2 separate regions of the Homo sapiens genome follow, and region 2 is linked to region 1. The links are contacts of gene promoters, found by promoter capture Hi-C in blood cells and fetal thymus (Javierre and others, 2016). All regions are on one chromosome and are shown on one strand. Each heading gives the region's core, a stretch centred on a gene start or on the middle of the fragment in contact. The rest is flanking DNA. Distances are from core to core; before and after follow the strand shown.

Region 1 (2,756 bases), core at 205-2,704:
TAAAATTTACACATATGTACAACACATCTTAACTACCTTCTTCAAAAAGATGAAACTACTTCAAAGCAGGGACATAAATTTCCTCTGTGAAGGGAGTAGGATGAAGTACCACAGTTTTATTAACTTCCTATTACAGGAAGAAATGTTCAAAGAGAACCAACGTTTTGGGTAAGCTTTCTGAGCACCAGATGTCCACAGTTTTTAGAAACTGGAGATGCTGGGTATAAGCTAACTACAACTTTCCTTTTGTAAAACATCATCAAAAAATTCACCAGCTTCCTGTTTCTAAAAACCAGATTCAGGATACCAGGTTACAGGAGTTTGACACTGACAATATAATAATATCAAATTTCTTGTTACAGATTAGAGTTAGGAACAGGAAACAGAAGACCTAGGGTCCAATCTGTTAACAAAATATACTTATTAAATAGATAAGTGGCCTTTATTTCAATCTTACTTTACCTCTAAAATGATCTAAGATTCTTCTAGCTATAAAATGGCATAACTCTGCCACAATGTCTACCTTGTATCTAGACCTATACTATCTGTAAGGGTACACTGATAGTTTATGTAATTAAGCAGATTAAGAGTACACAAAAATAATTGCCCTAGTTTTTACAAGGTAACTTAAGATCTGTATGAAACAATTAAGTTTCTGTCACTTTACAGCTACCTGTTGGAATCCTCTCCTTTAGAGCAGGAGGGTGCTGGATTTTGTGTTTACACCAAAATAAAACCAGACATGTTTAAGGCGCTTACTGAACAATTTAAAGAAAAAGATAACCCTGGCCAGAGTAGAGAGATACAGTCACACAATGAAGCCTGAGGGCAACAGAAGGAGATTAAATTGTGTGAAGGACAAAAAAGTTGCATTCATAATTAGTACTATTAATATTTCAGTGACTCTTCCTCATTTAGTATTCTAAGATGACCTTACTTCTCATGTTGCTTACCACAAACTCAGAACTCCTTATAGAAAAATTAGGGAGCCAGACGGAAATTAAGGCTTAACAGTACTACAGCACACATAACTTGTAGGATGGTTTCAAACTTTGATTTCTGAAAAGCACCGAAGGATCACTGGGTGTTATGAATTATCCACGTGATTTGGGGTCACTTCACCTCAAATGCATTCTCGGTAACTCCTATTACCTACCTTACCGGGTCACTGAGAGGGAGAAAGTAAATAAAAATGACATGTGTTCTTTAAAGCTGTCACATGGGAAATGGTCATTAAACATATTGGCAGATGGTTTTGCTAAGTACTGTCATTACTTGCTAAAGCATTAGGAACACGAGGGCTGAGTACATATCGATTACTAGTGCTTATTAAAATTTTCCCAGGGATTGTGCATTACGTGCAGGACGTGCCTAACCCAGAGAGACTCAAGTGTGACGCCGCGCTCCTACTTCCGGGGCGGCTGGTTCTTCCCGTCCTCCCCACCCCGGGGACACGCTTCTAGTAGGCCAAACTCCCAGGTGACCCCCGCAAGAAACGCGGTCCGGAGAGGGTCTGGCCCCACTGCTGGGGCAAGGGCTCTAGGCGCCCGGACCCCACGCCCGCAGCCTGCGGAGAACGTGCCGACAAGGACCTGTAGGGCCCCACTCCCCCTCCTCCCTCCCTCGGCGCAGCCCGGCCCAGGGGTCTGTCCTCCCAGGCCCAGGAAAGGAGGAAACCCACTTCCGCCGCGTCCATGATCTCCCGCGGCTTCTCCTGACTCTTGCGGCTGGCGCTGGCGCTGGGCATCGGGACACGGAACTGGGCAGTGGACACCACCCTCCCTCGCAGGCTTCCGTAAGGCAGGCCAAAGGGGCTTCTCCCTCCCTCCCAGTCTCCGCCCTCCCGACCCTGGGGTCTCAGCACACGCGCTCGGACTCCGCGTGGAGGTGCGGCTCCAGAAAGATCGCGAGAGCTGCGGCTATCTCGAGATCCCGGAGCGCTGGCGGCCGCGCGCAGGGTCTCCTCCCACTCTTGCCCCGCCCCTCCGGGAGTTTTCCCGGAGTTGGAGGGAATTCCCGGGAATTCGCGGTAGTTTCGCTGGATTGGCTCTGGGGGCGGGGGCAGGGGTTACCAGGTGGCTGGCTGTAGACCTGGGCGAATGCCAGCTCTCTTCAGCTTCGTCCCAACTGCGACTTCTGCTCCATTCTTCTAACAGCCCTTTCAACTCCGCTCGGCTGTAACCGCAGACTCGTCACTAAAACACCCACCTAAGCGCGGGCCTTGGTTTCTCCTCTCTTGGACTTTCCCGCCTTCTCTCTTCCCCTGGGCGACGTAGCTGCTTGGGGACGGAGGAGGCCTCTTCGCAATCCATTGCCCTGCTTGTTGGGACAGAGGAGTGCAGTTGGCTTGCCAAGGCAGCATGGGTTACCAGTCCCTGTGTAAGTGAGGTGTAAATACAGTGGCAACGACAACAAGAAACGCATACAATTGCATTGATTGCCTGGATCTGTTGCAGTGTTAGGGACAGTGCATAGTGTTGGTTGCCCAATGGGCGAATATCCCCAAGTTAGGCTTTTTTAAAAAACTGATTTTTTAAAAAAGCTATCATTCATGAGTTTTGAATCGAAATTGAAAATAATTTGGAGATTTGGTTTAATACTGTTTCCCCTGCCAGAGTTTGCACTCCGTCGTTTCAACTGACTTGGTAGTGTCTTAGTCTGGCACAAAGTGTTAAGGGGTGCACATAGATCCCAGCGCAAGTGAAAGGCTCTCTCTGGAGGCTCCCCCATGGAGTAGTGAGAAGACAGCCATGGTC
Region 2 (2,700 bases), core at 61-2,560, 1.1 Mb before region 1:
TGCACTTTTAAAATGTTGCTTTAAATCAATCTATTCCAGAAATTGTAAGCAACATAAAACGTAAAGCAAGGGAAGTGAGTATGAAATAGCAACTGTTACAAAAACTGCCTACTATAATCAATATTCTTGTGCAATGCAGTATGCTGAGCGTGGGAGCCCCATAACAATCACTTGCCTCCATGGTCTTTGGCAAATAGATATTACTTTATTTTTTATTTTCGAGACAAGGTCTTGCACTATCGCCCAAGCTGGGGTGCAGCAGCGAGATCTAGCTCACCGCAGCCTCCACCTCCTGGGCTCAAGCCATCCTCCCACTTCAGCCTCGGGAGTAGCTGGGACTACAGGCGCGCCACCAAACCTGGCTAATTTTTGTATTTTTGGTAGAGACGGGGTATCGCCATGTTGCCCTTGCCCTCGAACTCCTGACCTCAAGTGATCGGCCCACTGGACCTCCCCAAGTGCTGAGATTACAGGCGTGAGCCACCGTGCCCGGCCTCCAAATAGTTAAGACTTTAAACTTAGAAACCCTATTCACAACACAAACTCCGAGTGAAGCTCAGTGGCATTTTCTTACAGGAAGAAATACAGGAGTTAATCAACAGGTATGTGGGATGTTCCCACATCAAATCCTAAAGATAAAATTTTAACTCAGTTCCTCCTGCACTATCTGATTCTCCCCAACCTTGTCTCGCAGAAACCACAGCGCAGCCTGAAAACACGCCCCGTCTAGATTCAACACCTCATTTAGAAATTCAATTTCTCGTTGCTAGTTGGATAGCGTTTGCCAAGTAATTTGAAAAAATAAAAATAAACCAAGTGGTCTGGGATTTAAACAAGATAATGTAGGGTGAAAAAAGCACTCAGGTGCGGACAGCCATGGAGCGTGACTTCCTGTGCACTCTTTCCCCGCCAGCTCAACGCCAGAGCCGCGCGCTAGGCGGAGACTGTTGGTGGCGGAGGCCGGAGTCGCACGCCTACGAGACTGCGCGGACCCGCCCAAAAGGAAAATGGAAGTAGTGGCGTGAGGCTGCGACAGTGAAGGTTATTTTTCTCTTTTTAAAGGGCCGCTAGACCTCCCGTCTAAAGGAAGCGCCCGACGGGCCTCCGAAGTACACGCCCAGGCCCCCACAGCGCAGCCGCCCGACCGCCTCTCTTCACACCGGCCAGAGTCCACCCTCTCCCACTTTCCCCTCCCCTCCCCTCCCCGCCCCTTCCCTCCCCACCCCTTCGCCCCGCCAACCCTAGACCCGGCATGCGCTGCGCCGACCTTTTCCTTCCGAGCCGACCTCTCCACCTTCGGCGCCTCCCAATGACAAGCGGCGCGGAGCATTGTGGTCCCGTGCGCAAGAGCGAGGCCGAGGGCAGAAAAAGAAAGCAAAAGACTAGGGCGAGTCGGTAGAGCGGGCCCCGCGCATGCGCAAGGGCGGAGGCGGTGGTGAAAAAGGGTGGTGCGTGGTCTACGGCGAGCGGAGTGGGGCGGGGTCGCGCGCCTTGGCGGGGAGTCCGCGAGCCAGGAGGGGCGGGGGGTGAATGAAGGAGCGGGCGGAGGAGGAAGTGTCATGGCGTCGGGCCGTGGAGCTTCTTCTCGCTGGTTCTTTACTCGGGAACAGCTGGAGAACACGCCGAGCCGCCGCTGCGGAGTGGAGGCGGATAAAGAGCTCTCGTGCCGCCAGCAGGCGGCCAACCTCATCCAGGAGATGGGACAGCGTCTCAATGTGTATCCTTTTCTGTTCGCCGCCGCTCACGCCCTGTTTCCCTTGCCCGGTCGCCGGGCCTGGTGCCCCGCGAACATGGCGCCGCCGGCCTCGGCCTTCGCTGGGCCTCGGCGCCGCGGTCAGGGAAGTAATGTTCCGGCTCGGGCAGTCGCGAGGGGTCAGCAGAGGAAGGGAGGAGGAGATAGGACCCCAGGAATGCGGGCCAGGAGCCTGCGTTGTGTAATCTGTTTGGGGCAGCGCGTGGTGGTGGCGGCGGGGGTTGGGAGTGTGGCTCAGGCGAAAGAGGAATTTTAGGGATTATTGCAGAAAAGGGGCGGCTCCCTGGACTTGTCCCTGACCCCGAAGGGTTTGAGAGGTAGGAGGGTTAGCGATGCTGAAAGGCCTAAGTGTTTGCCGCAGCCTTTCCCGGCTCTCGTCGCCGGCTTGATGGCGGCTCTCTTCTACCTTGGGAGCGTACTGGAGTTCTTTATGTTCTTGGCGTGGTTTTGTATGGGTGTGTGCGCGCGCGTTTCAACTGTTTCATTTTGAGTTTAGTTAGTCGTAGCCATTGATAAATAGTTCCAGGGCCCTCAGCGCTGTTAGAGTGAAAAGATCAGCAGTTCTTATTCCCATTTATTTGGCGTCAAGCCTATTCTCTTCCTGCCGCCCCACCCCCCGCGGGCATTTATTTCTTTATTTCCAGTTTGGGGTTTGGATTTGAATGGGAGGTATTGGAAAAGAACCTGGGAATTTTCCATCAAAATTGTTCTGGGAATGAGATCTTGCTTTTGTCAGATATTTCCTAAATATTACGTTCCAGCTCTCAGCTTACAATAAACACTGCGATTGTTTATATGCACAGGTTTTATATGCACCATTCTTTCACCAAATTCAACAAAAATGTAAGTACTAGTTGTCTGTTTTTACTGTCCGCAAATTTGAGGGTAAATCGATACGCAGAAAAAAAGTTGGTCATTGCGTTGTTGGATTTAGTGTTCTGAATTAA

The links. The method cuts DNA at HindIII sites, captures the fragments that hold promoters and counts their contacts. A CHiCAGO score of 5 or more calls a contact.
Region 2: the fragment with the promoter of CCNT2-AS1 here is called in contact with the fragment with the promoter of DARS1-AS1 in region 1 in 3 of 17 cell types (total B cells, M2 macrophages and fetal thymus); the score reaches 5.4 in total B cells.

The regions. Positions count from the first base shown.
Region 1 is chr2:135,983,722-135,986,477 of GRCh38, forward strand. It overlaps DARS1-AS1 (DARS1 antisense RNA 1), which reads left to right and starts at 1,455. Exons shown (of 4, transcript NR_110199.1): 1 at 1,455-1,795. It overlaps DARS1 (aspartyl-tRNA synthetase 1), which reads right to left and starts at 1,905. Exons shown (of 16, transcript NM_001349.4): 1 at 1,682-1,905. The coding sequence starts at 1,747. RefSeq lists a silencer at 1,542-1,601 and an enhancer at 1,652-1,751. The HindIII fragment of the contact is 7,953 bases long and covers 172-2,756 here.
Region 2 is chr2:134,917,296-134,919,995 of GRCh38, forward strand. CCNT2-AS1 (CCNT2 antisense RNA 1) reads right to left here and starts at 1,311. Exons shown (of 5, transcript NR_036549.1): 1 at 1,268-1,311. It overlaps CCNT2 (cyclin T2), which reads left to right and starts at 1,527. Exons shown (of 9, transcript NM_058241.3): 1 at 1,527-1,717; 2 at 2,515-2,596. The coding sequence starts at 1,560. RefSeq lists enhancers at 437-486, 496-1,169, 1,247-1,406, 1,557-1,826, 2,037-2,126 and a silencer at 1,167-1,236. The HindIII fragment of the contact is 7,926 bases long and covers 1-2,700 here.